Regions from separate parts of the Homo sapiens genome. Here region 2 is linked to region 1. Evidence: promoter capture Hi-C in 16 types of primary human blood cells and fetal thymus (Javierre and others, 2016). All regions are on one chromosome and are shown on one strand. Each heading gives the region's core, a stretch centred on a gene start or on the middle of the fragment in contact. The rest is flanking DNA. Distances are from core to core; before and after follow the strand shown. Region 1 holds the start of CKAP2 (cytoskeleton associated protein 2). Region 2 holds the start of TDRD3 (tudor domain containing 3).

What was found. The method cuts DNA at HindIII sites, captures the fragments that hold promoters and counts their contacts. A CHiCAGO score of 5 or more calls a contact.
Region 2: a fragment that was not itself captured here is called in contact with the fragment with the promoter of CKAP2 in region 1 in 1 of 17 cell types (total CD4 T cells); the score reaches 5.1 in total CD4 T cells.

The regions. Positions count from the first base shown.
Region 1 is chr13:52,453,263-52,457,396 of GRCh38, forward strand. CKAP2 (cytoskeleton associated protein 2) reads left to right here and starts at 2,216. Exons shown (of 9, transcript NM_018204.5): 1 at 2,216-2,364; 2 at 3,261-3,345. The coding sequence starts at 2,295. CKAP2-DT (CKAP2 divergent transcript) reads right to left here and starts at 2,084. Exons shown (of 1, transcript NR_185890.1): 1 at 1,513-2,084. RefSeq lists enhancers at 1,367-1,546, 1,837-1,916. The HindIII fragment of the contact is 3,306 bases long and covers 1-2,970 here.
Region 2 is chr13:60,396,667-60,400,800 of GRCh38, forward strand. TDRD3 (tudor domain containing 3) reads left to right here and starts at 554. Exons shown (of 14, transcript NM_001146070.2): 1 at 554-739. The coding sequence starts at 699. RefSeq lists enhancers at 1-205, 1-426, 276-475, 1,356-1,405 and a silencer at 616-1,185. The HindIII fragment of the contact is 2,511 bases long and covers 63-2,573 here.

The DNA of each region.
Region 1 (4,134 bases), core at 966-3,465:
AGGATGTTTTTGCCAGGACCTCCCACCTTCTGAATCAGATGGTTCCTTTCAGTCCCAATCCTACTGGACCTCTGTAGTGCCCAACACTGTGGTCCATTACCTCTTTCTTCAGCTTCTCTCTTCCCCAGACTTTGTGACCCCATTGTGTCCCCATTGTCCTCCTAACTTTCAGATTGTCCTTCCCTGTTCTCTCACAGGCACTTTACCTTCTTCACATGACCACAGGAGGAACGACTAACACTAATTAATCATCAGTACTCCAGGTGCCTGCAGTTTCATGGTCAGCTGTGTTGGCAAAGAACTGTTCTGAAAGGAAATCTTTTTTGTTTTGTTTTTTTTGTTTGTTTTTTGGATCTTTTAGAAAAAGGTCTGCTTTCTCTGCAATAATTGTGTAGCAGTAATATTAAAAAGTGTCTCAAAAATAGACATATCATTGGAGTGGGTGAGTCTGGAGATTAGAGGAGAATTGCCATTTTGAAAAACCTAGCAGTTTGGCAGGTTTTCCTATTCATCTCAGCCTACTGAGATCTCCATGGTATCCTTTGAGTCAATTTCTTTTTTTACCATGCCCACTTATAAAAAATTATTGAGGTTCACATAACATAAAATTAATCATTTTAAAGTGAACAACTCAATGGCATTAATACATTTACAATGTCACCCAACCACTACCTCTAATTCCAAAACATTTCACTTACTTCAAGGTAATGAAACCCTTGTCCATTAAACTGTCTCCCAATTCTCCCCCTACCCTCAGCCTCTGGCAACTACTATTCTGAGTTATTTCACTATGGATGTATCTATTTTAGATCTTTCATATAAATGGAATCATACCATATGTAACTTTTCATATATTACTTCTTTTACTTAGCATAATGTTTTGGAGGTTTTTGAGTCACTTATTAACGCTGTATTTTGTTCTCACTTAATAGAAATCCCTGGTTGCCCCACCTGTCTGATGAAACTTTAGTAAATAATCAACAATAATGACAGACGTATTTAAACAGCAAGTTATATCTTAAGGATGGTGATGGACAATGTTAAACTAAAACTGGGACATTTCATCAAGTAAAAAACTACACAAAATCTCAAACCAAATTCCTCATTAGCAAGACGCTACCATAAGATGTCTGAAGAAAAAAGCAGGCAGAAGTGGGAAAAACTGACCACAGCCGAGGGCCAGCTGTGGAGGCCCTCAGACCTGGGAAGGGTAAACGGGGAAATCACATCCTCCCGTCTGTGTGCCCGGAGCACCTAAAACCTGGCTGAAAGAGTCCAGTCCAGCCTTACTGCAGTGATCAGGCAAGAAATGTAAACCCAGTGCTTGAAACCAGGCAGGTGCAGTCCAGACTCGCCCTCACTTCCCCACTGCCACTCTTAAAACCTTCTAGCCCTGACTTGTTTCGTTCTGTCATGTGGATTGAGTGTTTGTGTGGGTTTTATGAAGGTGGTATTTTTAGATGAGAAAAACGAAGATTATGGCGGCACACTTAACCACACAAACACAAAACGTCTGTAACAAATGCTATTTTATCTTCAAAGGAGAATTATATATAACCTTGAGGAGGGGATGAGGTTTATCTTCATTTTTTTCTGTTTCTCCTCCTCTCCTCCCTTTTTTGCATTTGATAATTGCTTAGAATAAAGGTATGGAAAGTAGATCCCAATTTCAGTTCCCCTTCACACGCTGTGCAAACGTGGACAAACAACCTCTGAACCTGTCACCTCTCAGTGGAAAAAGTGGTGATAACGTCCCACCTCAGAATTGATGCTCAAAATGAAGCAGTATTTGTGAAACGAAAATACACACGCTCGTGGTACGCCAGATCGGTGTTTACGTCCTCGTCAGTGAACGCGTCGATGTTTAATAAGAAGGGCAGCCAATCAACACTTTTCTTGTCTTTTTCTCGTCTGCCTTCCTCCAAGGACTGTGAGGGTCTCAAGATGTGTCCCATCTCGGTTGTTTGTCAACCTAGTCCTGCTATGTCGTGGGGACTGAGCAGGCCGACTCCTCCCCCATCGCACGTCCAGGATGAAGAGCGCTGTTTAGGTTTGAAACCTGCAGACTCAGTCCCAACCGAACTGGGCAGACACCAGACCGGCCCCGGCAACTGCAGTCCAGGCTCCGCCTCCCTACGCCCATTGGCTTATTCAATTCACGCAGGAACCAATGGGCGGAGACGGCAGCCGCGCCGTCTGACGGCTTAGCCGCGGTGCAGACTGCGGCGGCGGTGGTCTGAGGAAGTTCTATCTTGGCGCTAAAGCGGAGACGCATCCCCCGACCCGAGGCTACGATGAGCACACCGGCCGTGCCCCAGGACCTGCAGCTGCCCCCGAGTCAGAGGGCGCAGTCCGCATTCAAAGGTGAAGGCCGCGGTGGCGGTGGCGGTGGCGGTGGCGGTGGCGGTGGCGGGCGCGGGCCCGGCGGTCGGGGCTCGGGGCCGCGCTGGCGCGCTTCACCTCTCCCCCGCTCTGTGAGATCCCTGAACGCGGCGTCGGCCTCGCCCTGCCTCATTCTTGGCCTTGTGGAACGGATCATAAAAACAGGAACCGCTGCGTGGTGTTACTGTGCGGTCGCTGCTGGCTGGGATGGGCCCTCCTAAGAAGGAATCCGTTAGGCGAGGGGAAACGCGCGGGCCTCAGGCCGGGGTCGGTGTCGGAGACCCTGGGTCCGCTTGGGGGCGGGGCTGCACAGGTTCAGGGACCGACTGCGCCTGCGCTGGGTCCTCCGCCTCTTAGGTCCCTAGCGAATTTCTGCAGGGCTGGGGTCGCATCATGTGTTATTTCCAATTTCACAGCTTCTCCTTCGACTTTATGGAAACCGAGGGTTGGTTGGGTCTTCAAAACTAATATTGTTATTCCCTTATTCTACACACGGGAAAGCAGAAGAAAGTAATTCTCATCTAACCCAGTTCTGGTAAATTAGAACTTTCGAGTCTAGTGCCTCACTTCTACCATTTAGTTTCTTAAAGCTTGGCTAGCAGGAGCTGTATGTAGAAAATGATGTTCTCCAGATTTTTCACAGGGAGTAGAGAATGTGATTCTTATGCAGAGGGGTTTTGGGGACCTGTTGTGGTAACAGTCTCTTCTAAGGTGATTTCTCAAAGGCAATATTGAATTGGAGAATTTTCTGTTATATAGATGTGACCTCAGGTGGAACCAGCTTTGGAAGTAAACTCTTCATTTAGTCAACAAGATTTATTTGCCGTTATCGATGTTTTAACTAATATTGACTTGTAGCTCTTACCTTTGTTATCTAGAGCAAAGAAGACAAAAACTCAAGGAACATCTGTTGAGAAGAAAAACGCTTTTTGCATACAAGCAGGAAAATGAGATGTTATCCAGGTAAGGTCAAGTTTATTTCTTTTCACTTCTGTAAAATTGTATCAGATCTGTCCAATGAAAATGTAAAGTAAGCCATATCTGTAATTTTAAATTTTCTAGTAGCCACATTTAGAAAAACTGCTTACATATTATTTTACGTCTTTTTGTGGTACAACGTCTTTAAAATCTGGTGTCTATTTTACAGTTACAGGACATTTCCATTTGGTCTATCCACATTTCAAGCACTCAGTAGCCACATTGGCTAGTGGCTACTTTATTGGATGGTGCAGCATTAGATCATCGTTTTATTAATTTTTTTTTTTTTGAGACAGAGTCTCACTCTGTTGCCAGGTTGGAGTGCAGTAGCGTGATCTTGGCTCACTGCAGCCTCCACCTTCTGGGTTCAAGTGAATCTCCTGCCTCAGCTTCCCAAATACCTGGGACTGACTACAGGCAAGTGCCACCATTCCCTGCTAATTTTTGTATTTTAAACAGAGACCGGGTTTCACTATGTTGGCCGGGCTGGTCTTGGACTCCTGACCTTGAGATCCGCCCACCTCAGCCTCTGAAAGTGCTGTGATTACAAGGATGAGCCACCGCGCCCGGCCTAGATTATCGTTTTCTACGTAAATTAATTCACAGTCTAAGAGAAAAAAACAATTATAAAGCAAAGTATGTGCATAGACTAGATTATCAACTTACTGTTTACACCACACAAAGGTCAGTCTTTCTATTATTTAGCAAAGCTTTTTACTCAGTGTATGGGGGAGTTCATCAGGGAAGGGTTGGGTGGCCCTCCCAAATGCTTAG
Region 2 (4,134 bases), core at 68-2,567, 7.9 Mb after region 1:
CAGGGCATTTTCACTGTGGTGTCCGACTGGGGCAACTCGATCTGCCCGCGGGGACTCAAAAAAGCTTGAGCTGCATTTTTTCTTTGCGTCCGGGCGGACCAAAAGGCGAGGTGAAGGGAACGAGTGTTTATAAGAAAGTAAACTTTTGTGCAGAATGGGCTGGGGACACCTCTGAGTTTTGCTGCCCGCAACGTGACCTTTTTAGCGCGGTCCTGGACGCGTTCCCTCGCAGCCAACCCGTCAGTCTCCTCAGGCCTTATCCTGCCCTCTCTGAGGTGGCCGCCTGTGGGCGCTGCAAACGCCACACTTTTGCTCTACGAAGAACCTCCTCGCGACTTTCCAAGGTGTGCAACTCAGAAAAGCGCCCCCCAAAACAAGTAAAAGCCTTCGGGGAAGAGGCAAAGTCCCTGAACCGTCCTGACTCCAGCCACCAGCCGGTGTTTGGTGGATCAGGTCCCGGAGCTCCGCAGCCTGGGAGCCCCACACCAGGCCGGCCCCTACGGCCGCTCAGAAAACGCGGCGAGCGGAACCCGCACGCGGAAGCGCCGGCCGCACTGAGCATGCCCAGTTGCAGAGCCGACCAGAGGAGTTTTTTCTTTTCTTTTCTTTTTTTTTTTTTAAGGGGGGGGGTCTCAAGTAGGAGGCCTCCCCATCACCCCCACCCCAGCCCCCCACCACCCCCGGCCTAAGCAGCTACCATGGCCCAGGTGGCCGGCGCGGCGTTGTCCCAGGCGGGTTGGTAAGTGGCGAGTCCCGCCGGCTGCCGGGCCGCGGGTGCGGGCCGGGGCCCCAGGGAGGTTGGGTTGGGGGCGGCGGGGTGCGTGTCGGGGTAGGCGGAGGCTGTCGTCCGCCCCCGGCCTCTCCCCGGGCCCTTCGGGCCGGCTCCGCCCCCGGCGCCACGCGGAGCCCTGCGAGTTCCCCTAGGTCCCCTGGAGGCGGCGGCGGCGGCGGCCTGGGCCCCGGGCGGCGGGCCTGGGCCCCGGGCGGCGGGCGGCGGGCCTGGGGAGAGGCCGGGGGCCGCGAGCCGGGCGGGTGGCGGCCCAGACCCCGGCCGACCGGAGCGCCGGGGAGGACCTGCAGCGCCGTCCGCGCGGCTTCTCCGGGGAGGGGGTGTTTCTGCAGCGGGATCGGGAGGCGAGGGCTGGGAACGAAGTGCGGCGGAGAGGGACGAACGCGGCCGGAGCCCGCGGGCCCATAGGAAGTTGAGGGCAGAGCAGAGCACAGCCCGCGCTGCGGCCGGAGCCGCCTCTTCTTACCCCTTATTTCAAAGTACAGTGTGGACCAGTGTGAATCTGCCTTCCGCGGCACACACACAACTTCTGGAGCTAAGAATGACCGCAATGTCAACTCGTGGGGGTGCTCGGTAGAACTTTTCTTGAAAGGATGGTGTTCTGATTTTAAGAGGCCTTTCGTGTCAAGATTTTCAGGATTTGAAAACAATACAAAATTATGCGAAATTAGGCAGTTTCTGGAATTGCGGCCATTACGGTTGTAATCATCCCGTTTAATTCAGTAACGCTTTTCCCAGGCTTGCACAGGCACATTCTGGGATGAAGGGTAGGAACGGGGATGAAAAAGATTTGCAACGGCTCTCTGCAATTACTGCTTTAGGAGAAAGAGTGAGGCATTAAAAGACCAAACAAAACCAGGGGGAATAGTGATAAACCGTACGTACAGAGGAACAGATGAGTGCACTGTGGAATGGGAGGGAGAGTTACTTTCCTAAAGTGGACTTGGAAAGATGGTAAGGAAAAGGCTTTCTAGCACAGAGCTGCTGGAGATGACACAGGGAAGCGCTTATTGTTTTGCAGAACCTACACAAGATCTATATGGTTCGTGAAAGATGTGGATTTGATTTTGTGAATAAAGTTTTTGATCAGTAGAGGGATATAATCACAACTGTGCTTTGAAGAAGCCCCTCCTGATTTTAAAGGCACTTGTGTTATTATACACCCCATTTTACAGGTGAGGAGACTGAGGCAAAGAGCTGTTAAGTAACTTTCCCAAAATGACATAGCTAGAAAGTGGTGGAGTTGAATGTTGAGCACAGAGGGCCTGGCTCTGGGCCTGGTTCCTTTAACGCTTATGCGTTATTGTTGTTACAGTTTTTTCGCAGAACAGCATGGGCGTAAAAGATTGTAGAGTTAAAAACACTGTCTTCAGTTTTGTTTCTGTTCAATAGGAATCTCTTCTTTCAGTTTTTTTACCCACAAGGGTGTCCTGAATAATCTTGGATCCCTCTTTCATTTGCCTTTCTCCCCATTTCTCATTAGGTTGAGCGTTGATCCTTCACACTAGTAATATTTTCATTTACAAACTCAGTATTTTACTGCTTTCCAACATGACCCCCCCTCCTTTGGAAAGATTAGTCTCATTTTTTAGGTCCCGAACACGTGTTGACTTTGTTTTCTCTGGCCTCTTATGCTTTTCCAGGGCAGGGAAGTGAGTCTTATTTTTCTCCTTATCTGGATTGTCAAGAAATGCACCAGATTGTAGGTTCTCTGTAAAGTCTAATACAGTTGACCTTGGAATGCCCCTGCCAGTCAGAATTCTCTGGGCAGGGCCTCTGCAGAAGCTTAGGTAGAGTCCCACCCTGCTTCGTTATATTGTTATAAATCTTCAGCAATGTTATATTGTAGCATTTGCTACTTTATATTGCAACTTAACTGTTTATGTTTCTCCCACCTGTCTGTGCTGCTTCTGTATGGCAGTGACTCATAAAGGCAGTAGTAATCTGCGGGGCTAAAAACACTATCTTTCTAGGAATTGTGAGTTTCATGTAATTCCTGCTAGGTCTCGAACAGACTAGGCATGAGGATCTCCTAGGCTTTCAGGTGGCTTCTACTAGGTCTTTAATTGGGGACTTACTATGTTAAAATTTAGAATCACAAAGGTTTAAAGGCAGAAAAGAGCACTGGAGGGAAAATTTCTGACTGAAGGGCTTTCACCAACTCATTTTAGTTCTTATATCCTGAGTTTGCTCTTACACTTGGGGTTCTCTGTTAACTGTCACTGACAAACCATTTTTCTTAGTATTCAAATCTATGTACTTAGTTACTTGTAGAAGCTAAAAAGAAGTAGATGCTAAAACATGGACACACTATTGTTAAATCTGTTCTATAGGCTTCACCTAAAATAGCAGATTAGGGAAATATTTAGTGCTGAAAAGTTTACAATTCTGAAAATGTGATCTTCAGGGGGGTACAGAAGATCTATGTAGACCAATCTGTTCAAGTTTACATTATTTTTAAGCGCAGTTTTTTTCCTTCTTAAGGTTTTAATCTTCATTAGAACCCCTATAAAAATCAGTATTTTAAAATATAACTTCAAAAGTAGCTACCTGGCGGACTTAAAATAATTTTTGTTCTTCAATGGCCAGTAGCACACAAACTATTAGATTTTGCTGATTTGAACTTGAATGTTCCAGGGCTTTCTACAGAGTAGTGATAATGTTTAAATAATGCACTAAATGGTACCTTGTAAAGCTTAATTATATGCATGGAATAACTTCACGGGGAGAAGAAATTTGACTCTGAATTTATCTAGATAACAATTTTACTCACTCTGCATTTTTGTTTTCTCTCTTCAGAGGTTCATTCTCCTTTAGGATGATATCCCTGATCACTGTGAGTGGAAATATAAAATTCTACTCACAGGAGAAAGATTCAAAATGTTGATCTCTGGACATTTTGAATTTTTCTCTTCCATCTCCTCCTTTGTTTGTTTGTTTTTAACAGAAACCTGTCACGGGGTACCTAATCAGTTGTGTTTTTGTTTTTGAAAATGTATCTTCTGGCTGGGCGCAGTGGTGGCTCATGCCTGTAATCCCAGCACTTTGGGAGGCTAAGGCGGGTGGTCAGGAGTTGGAGACCAGCCTGGCAAAAATGGTGAAACCCCGTCTCTACTAAAAATACAAAAAAATTAGCCAGGCGTGGTGGCAGGCCCCTGTAATCCCAGCTACCTGGTGAGGCTGAGGCAGGAGAATCGCTTGAACCCAGGAGGCGGAGGTTGCAGTGAGTCGAGATTGCACCATTGCACTCCATCCTGGGCGACAGAGCGAGACTGTGTCTCAAAAAAAAAAAAAAAAGTGTCTTCCATGGAATTAATGTTGCATAGCTTAACTCTCTCTCTGTG